Regions from separate parts of the Homo sapiens genome. Here region 2 is linked to region 1. Evidence: promoter capture Hi-C in 16 types of primary human blood cells and fetal thymus (Javierre and others, 2016). All regions are on one chromosome and are shown on one strand. The core of a region is centred on a gene start or on the middle of the fragment in contact, and the rest is flanking DNA. Distances in the headings are between cores, read along the strand shown. Region 1 holds the start of HK2 (hexokinase 2). Region 2 has its middle 41 kb from the start of MRPL19.

Region 1 (3,991 bases), core at 1,310-3,809:
CTGCCTGCCCTGCATCATGAGGAGGTATCTGAGTGGAACGTCAATGAGGAGGAAGAATGAGTTGGAGACAGGCCTGGAGAAGAATATTCTAGATAGAAGGAAAAGGAAGAGCAAAGACCCTTGGGTGAGAAAGAGTTTGTATTTTTGAGGAAAGCATGCTAGTGTGAATGCCAAGCAGTATTCTGTGGGAAGATCTCAGGAGGTGTCTAAGGGCATGGAGATAAGTGGTCAGATGCACGGTCTGTTTTATAGGTGGAATTAACTGCTTGCTGATGGATTGACTGGCTGTGAGGGTGAGTGGCAAGAAGGAATCGAAGACGAGTTAGGGTGGATGGCGATGCCATTTGCTGAGACAACTGGGAAAGAAAAAGATTTGGGAAAAAAAGTTGAGTTCAGCTTTGGACATGTTAAGTGTGATATGCTAGTCACTTCAGTGGAGATGACAAATGGCAAGCTGGAGAAATAAGCCTGCAACTCCAGGAGAGGACCTCGCTGTAGATTTACTATGGTGAGTCATCAGCATGCATATGATATAACAGTCATGGGGCTAGGAAGTTAGTTTCTCCTCAGGGAGTTTGAAACTGTAACTAGTTCAGAGAAGAGGGTGGAGGGCAGCCCCGAATACCCCAGCATTTACCAATAGAGCAAACAGGGACTCAGGAGCCTGGGGAGTGAGGTTAGCCAGAAACCCTCAGAGTGGAGCACTGGTGCTCTTACTGAGAGAGGAAGGTGTGTCCAGATGGAGGATGTGATTAACTGTCCTCAACATCCCTGAGAGAAGGAGTAAGACAAGGGCAGGGAAGAGAAGAGAATGCAAGATTTGGCAACATGTAGGTCATTATGATGACTATGACAAAAGCAGTTTGAGCTCAATTCTGTGTGGAGTATAGGGAAGGAGGGTTGAGGACGTGCATTTAGAAGGGTACATAGTTCTCAAGAAGTTTTGCTGAGCACATCTGTAATCCCAGCTATTTGGGACGCTGAAGTGGGAGGACTGCTTGAGCCCAGGAGTTCAAGACCAGCCTGGGCAACATATCGAGTCCCTGCTTTAAAAAAAAAAAAAAGGAAGTTTTGCTGAGAGGCTAGATGGATTATGATTTTTGTTTATTTTTCCTGTTTATCCATATATTATTTTTCAACAATGAGTATTGATTACTTATATAATAATTTTAAGGCTGTACACATTGCAGACAGCACCCCACTGTTTGAAAAACTCCTCCTCAGTAGAACATGGCAGACCTTCATCTTCCTTCCCTGAACCTTTTCCAACCTTAGGCTTGCCATTCTCCACCAGTGCTAATGTCATGTCTCTTGAAATCTGTATTGAAGTCAGTATTTCATTCTTGCCAGTTTCCACTGTGTGTTTAAATTTGGAGTCTGGTGTCTAGCATTAGCTGGGGTTGGAGCTTCCACTCCTCTCAGCATTGGTAAGCCTCCTCACCCACCCCATCCCATGTCCAAGATCACCCAGTTACACACTTACCATCTACCCAGTTCATTCACATCATCAGTCCCAGAGCTGCAGAGATGCTCTTTTTCTACCTCCTACTTCTCTGGCTCTTAGAGAGGCAGCATGGGATAATGGGGCAAGCGAATAGGGCCTTAAAGTAGAGGGACAAGGGTTCTCTTCCCTATCTGCCACTTATTAGCTATGTGACCTCGTGTAAGTCTCTTTTCTTTTTGAGACAGGGTCTCCCTCTGTCACCTAGGCTGGAGTACAGTGGTATGATCATAGCTCACTGCAGCCTCGAACTCCTGGGCTCAAGCTATCCTTCCACCTTAGCCTTCTGAGCAGCAGGGACTACAGGCACATGCCACCATGTCCGGCTGATTTATTTATTTTTATTTGGGAAGATGGGGGTCTCACTATGTCGCCCAGGCTGGTCATGAACTCCTGGTCTCAAGCAACCCTCCAACCTTGGACTCCCAAAGTGCTGGGATTACAGGTGTGAGCCCTGGCCTTGCCTCAATTTCCTCATCTGTAAAACGGGGTTAGTGAAACTCACATCCTATCAGTGGTTTTGAGGATGGGCCGACTCTTGTATTGCCTGCTCTAGTACAATCAGCAGCTAAGGCGGCTCACTTTCCGGCCGTGCTACAATAGGTAAGAACTAGGATGCTTTAGACGTGTGACTGGGCAGTGGGAGCCCCTCACATGATCCCGAGATGCCAGACAGTGTCTCTCCGCACAGGGCGTGTGCTGGTCCAGAGGCCCGTTTTTCCAGTCGCCCCACACCCCGGGTCCGCGATCACGCTCCCCCCACCCATAGCCGAGCCTGACGCGGCGGTGGCTCATGCGCCTTTCCGTCCCAGCCTTTAGCCACGGACCACACGTCCCATCTCAGGCGCCCCGCCCCTCCCCCGCCCCCCGCCCCCGGCGCGCCTCCCCAGGCTGCCGGCTCCGGTGTCTGAGCGGCCGCGCCCGCGAGCCGTGAGCGATGATTGGCTGCGCCACGGCGGCGGGCGGTCCGTGGGCGCACACACCCTCCCCGCGCAGCCAATGGGCGTGCGCACGTCACTGATCCGGAGGCCCGCGGGCCGGCAGCCCCTCAATAAGCCACATTGTTGCATGAAACTCCGGCGCAGGAGTCCCGGGCTGCCGCTGGCAACATCGTGTCACCCAGCTAAGAAAATCCGCGGGCCCGAGCCACGCGCCTGTGAATCGGAGAGGTCCCACTGCCCGAGTGGAGCCGGGCTGAGATTCTTCTCAAGTTGAGCCTCAGTGATCCTGTGGCCGAAGTTAGCGCCTTGACGTGGGACAACCGGACACGTCGCCAGGAGAGAACTGAGGCGCCTTCTAGCAGTTGTGACGCCAAAATCACGTCTCCGGAGACCCGCGCCCTCCGCCAGCCGGGCGCACCCTCGCCGGTAGCCTTCTTTGTGCGCCGTCCGGACTCCCAGCTCCCGGCCCGGCAGCCGAGCCCCAGCACAAAGCAGTCGGACCGCGCCGCCCGCCTCCCCTCTCGCGTCTCCGCCTCGGTTTCCCAACTCTGCGCCGTCGGGCCGCGGCAGGATGATTGCCTCGCATCTGCTTGCCTACTTCTTCACGGAGCTCAACCATGACCAAGTGCAGAAGGTAAGTCAGCGCGGGCGGGGCGGCAGGCTGGGCTCTGGCAAAGTGGTCTGGCCTCCATCAGTCTCTTCCTCGACCCTGCGGGGACCCGCTTCCTCCCTACTCCGGGCCTGGGAGCGGAAAAAGTTTGGGCAGCCGGGACACTCCTGGGCGCCAGGAGCCACGTCCGCTAAGCACAGCCGGCGAGTGCGCGCGGGCGGGGAGCCGAGGTCGCGCTCCGCCGGGCGCCCTCCCTCCCTGAGCTCCGGCACGCGCTCACGCTCTCTCCCCCAGTCCCTTTTTCCCTGTTACTGGAGGGGCGGGTCACCCCGCAGGTAGTCAGGGATTGCTGCGCCCACGTGGGAGGGAGCCCCCTTCTGCAGCGCGAGTTCCGGCGAGAGCACGTGGAGAGAATCGTGGCTGCGGGAGGCTGCTCCGCTGCCGCGTGGGGCCGCCGGGGGCCGTCCGCGCTCGCGGACCGCGTGTAGGAGACGAGCGGTTCCCTTCTCCTTCCCCGCGGCCCTGCGGGGGTGGGCTCGAGGAGAAGCTGACCCGGGAAGGAGTAGGAAAGGGGCAGAGGAACTCCGCCCGCCGCGCCCCCTCCCCGGAACTGTGGCGCCCGGAACTGAGGCTCGGCGAGGGGCGTCCCCCATTAACCCCCGCCCCTCCAAATCAGCCTCGGGACCGCCCAGCCTCGTGTCCTCAGGATCTGCCTCTGAGTAAGGGGAGGACTTTGGTTGTTACTTTCTGGTTTGCCCTAAAAGTTACTCGGAGAGGCCAACGCGCCGCGTTCCTGGATTACTTGAGATTCTTGAGATTTATGTCCTTCCGAAAACGAGCTTTTTTTTCCTTAAGCCTCGACCTGTCTGTTCCCACCTGGCTCCGCAGCTCCCTATGGCTGAGCGCTCACCGCGGCCGGGTCATTTACATAAGAAAGAG
Region 2 (3,726 bases), core at 574-3,073, 770 kb after region 1:
TTGGGTAAGTTAAGGATCATATCCTTTCATATATGCTGCAAATGTTTGTCTGAGACTATAGCTTGTCTTTTGACTTTGCTTATAATGTTTTGTTCTTGTAATTTGAAAAAAAAGTGAGAAAATATGTCATTTGTTTTCTCCTTGTTGGATTTTGGGATTCTTGCTACCATTAAATTTATGCCCTCTATGCCAAAGTTATAGAAACTTTCCACTAGATTTTCTTCAAATCCTTTGTGTTTACTTATTTACATTTATATCTTTAACCAAAACCCATCTCACTTTTTTTCCCCAGATGAAGAGCCAATTAGGTCAGCACTATTTCTTGAATCAATCCTAACTTTCCTGCTGAATTGAAATGTTGTCTTTATCAAATACTAATTTTGCAAACATACGGTACCCATTCCTGGATTCTAGCCTGTTCCAGTGGACCACTTGTTCATGTGCCAAAACATATTATTTTGATGAAAATCACTTTATCTTAAATGTCAATATTTGGTAAGGCAAATGTACCCTATTTTCTTTTTCAGAATTATCTGCCAAAGTCTACAAGGCTATATGACAATATCCCACCACAATTATGCTTTTTAATTAAATTAATCTTGTGTTTCAAAGAGGAAGTGGCTAAGAGTCTTAGCTAACCCTGGATGGCTATGAATGAACACCCAGTCATTCATGCAAGCAGAGTCACCCCAGGTGCCCTCGCTCACAGTCTCACATTCTCATTCCTGCACACTAAACGACTCAAAAGTCCTCCGGAGCTCTGGACCTTGATAGCTATTCTCCCCTTTCTTCAAAGTCCCAGGGTCTTCTCACCCAGATCCCAGGGGCCTTTCTGCCCCCTGCCATCCTCTGACAACTCTGTCCCAGGCTAAAAATAGCTGCCCGCTTGGGGCTTTCTTCTCCTTTAGGCTCCTGCTATCTCCAAGCACAATGGGGTAGAGGACCAAATCTGTGCACCCTGATAACTGCTCTTCTACGTTTCTGCAGCTGCTTATGAGACATCCATGTGCCAGACTCCTCTCTAGCCCAAACTCTCCTTCTAGTAGTTGTTTCCCTGCTTGTAGACTACCCTTTGGTTCTCCCTAGGACACCACTCCTGATCCTCCTTGAGATGGACTCAGCCCTGACCTCCTCCTCATAGGTACTGCTGATGGCTGGAGGAGAAGGATAACGTCAGAATCATGGTGCTATGGGTTGAATTGTATACCCCTAAAATTCATACATTGAAATCTAACTCCCAGTGCTGCAGAATATGATCTTATTTGGAGATAGAGTCATTTCAGATTGAATTAGTTAAGATAAAGTCGTGGTGGGGTGTGGTTAACCAATATGACTGGTATTCTTATATAAAGGTGAAATTTGAACATGGAGACATCCACACAGGGGGAACACCATATGAAGATGCAGGCAGAGATTAGGGTGACACTTCTAAAAGCCAAAGAATGCCAAAGATTGCCAACAAACCACCAGAAGCTAAGGGAGAAGCAGGGAACAGCTTCTCTTGCATAGCGCTGAAAAGGAACCAACCCTACTGCTACCTTGATCTTGGACTTCTAGCCTCCAGAACTGTGAGAAAATAAATTTCTGTTGTTTAAGCCACACAGTCTGTAGTACTTTGTTGCAGCAGCTCTAGGGAGCCAATACACACAGCAACCCAATGCAGATGAAGGTGGGCTGCCTTCCCCCACCTGAGCCCTTCTCTCTGTTTTTTGCTGGGGTCACGTAGGGAGTCAGATCACAACAAGCTTCAAAATGTGTTTTTGGTTAATAATACTGGCCCCAGACTCTTGCCTGGTATGAAGGTTTAGCAGAGAAACTCAGGCTCCCATTGCCACCCACAGCCTGGTCCCCAGGCAGAAGCAAGCCGTGGGCTCTGCCTTGCCAGTTGGGAGCATCGTATCCAAGCTTTGGTGCTTCAGCAGTAAACAAGCAGTTAGCAACTGCTCTGCAAGCTATCCAAGCGTGACATGCTGAGGTTTCTATGACTTATCCTCTAGTGCCTCCCCCACTGTCTGTCATTCCCACCACACAGGAATCCTGACTCTTCTGACCTGTGGGCATTCATTAGGACTGTGGCCAGTTGTTCCTCCTGATGCCCTAGTGCCTAGCTCAGTGTCTGACCCACAGTAAATGCTCAATCTTTATTTACTGGATGGGTGGATAGATGGACAAAGGTACAGGAGACTCTTTGGACTAAGCTTTCTCCAGTATGTGATTCAACCTAGCAGAAGAGAGGGCGTTACCAAGAGGAGCTTCTAGGAACTGAGTCAGTCATTGAGTTGCTGCAGGCATGCATTCTTGCCATGTGGACCCTGGATTCTTTCTCATTCTTTCTGGGCTAAAGGTTGGCTTCCAAGTTCCTTTCCACTAGTGCGCCCTCCTGGCGGCTCTTTACAGCCAACTTCACACAAAGGAGGTTTAAACAGCATCTGGCAAGTCTCCCTGGAATTCACAACCAGCTTGCTCCACCCCAAAAATCTACCAAATACTTCAGACAGAACTCAGAGTGGAGGCCCTGCATTTAAAAATGGATCTCTTTTCCTGAGGCATCCACACCTCCTTCTTTTTAGAAAGCACAAGCTCATATTGAAACAGCCATCCCAGAAAAATGTGTGGAGGGGAAAAACAAAACAAAGCAGAACAAACTACAAAACAACAACCACAAAAATATTTGGAGGTCTCCCTGTCCTTGTGTTCCAGAAAGTTCGATATATGGGGATTGCAGTGGGAAGAGCAGTTGCCAGCATTGTGGAGAGACTTCTAGAGACACAGGGGACTTGAGAGTGGGAAATGGCAAGAAAAGTGCCCTGAGCCCCGGCCCAACTTGGCTCTTAAAGAGAACCCCACCATTCATTAACTGGCCCTAAAACCTGCTAAGTGAAAAAGTAAAATAAATGAGCTCATTAAATCCGGAAGGAGGGAAGACCTGGAGGCTTAACCAAGGAAATTCCCAACACCCACTTAGAAAAACAAGGGGGTTTTAGGCTCAGTTAGATTCATGGCCAGGAGTGGGGGCTGGCCCCCAAACAAGGAGGTTGAGTCATGCTGAACCACCATGCAGAGCTCGGCCATTTCCAGCTCTGCAAACAGGAGCCTGGATAGGGAGCTGCTGCTGCTTGTAGTGTGGCGGGGATGGTCAGTGTGGTTTACCAACTCAAGTGGTCCACATCCTTAGTCAAACTCATGGGGAAATCAGTTGAGAAATATAGTGGGAAGTTCCAGGAGCATGCAAAGTTCTTGAGAGAATTATGACTTCAACCCAGACTGCGGTAACTGCCTGTAACAAATACAGCCTGAGATTCGGCTTAATAAAGACTGTTCATCATGTACCATCCATTCCTCCCCGATTTATCACTCACTTCCTGAGGACCATCTATGTGCTGGCGCCATGCTAGATGCTGCCCTTTCAGGCCTAACTTGTTAGTATTGCTCCCATCGACCAGTCCAAGTTCCTATTCATGGTCCCTGCTTCACCCATGACCATAGCCCTCTTTGGTTGTGGGGTTCTGCAGATTCCCTTCAGATCTCCTTGTTCTTGAATGAGTGGAACTCTGATGATTCCTGGCATCTGCTCTCGTCTTGGGTAAAAGATTCCCCTCCAGGTGTGGCAGCCCCAGGCCTACACAAACAATGACTGTACCTAGAATAATACCTGCTGTACTGATGCATGGGCAAGAACAATGGGAATGCTGAGGAGAGAGTGCCTAACCCCATGTGTGTGTTTGC

The links. The method cuts DNA at HindIII sites, captures the fragments that hold promoters and counts their contacts. A CHiCAGO score of 5 or more calls a contact.
Region 2: a contact is called between a fragment that was not itself captured here and the fragment with the promoter of HK2 in region 1, in 1 of 17 cell types (naive CD8 T cells). The highest score is 5.8, in naive CD8 T cells.

Annotation. Positions count from the first base shown.
Region 1 is chr2:74,831,568-74,835,558 of GRCh38, forward strand. It overlaps HK2 (hexokinase 2), which reads left to right and starts at 2,560. Exons shown (of 18, transcript NM_000189.5): 1 at 2,560-3,076. The coding sequence starts at 3,014. It overlaps HK2-DT (HK2 divergent transcript), which reads right to left and starts at 2,420. Exons shown (of 1, transcript NR_185897.1): 1 at 1,088-2,420. RefSeq lists silencers at 2,052-2,121, 2,302-2,531, 3,452-3,701 and enhancers at 3,278-3,991, 3,932-3,991. The HindIII fragment of the contact is 22,379 bases long and covers 1-3,991 here.
Region 2 is chr2:75,603,997-75,607,722 of GRCh38, forward strand. No RefSeq gene overlaps it. Among named protein-coding and RNA genes, the nearest start is that of MRPL19, 41 kb to the right of the region's middle. The HindIII fragment of the contact is 160 bases long and covers 1,744-1,903 here.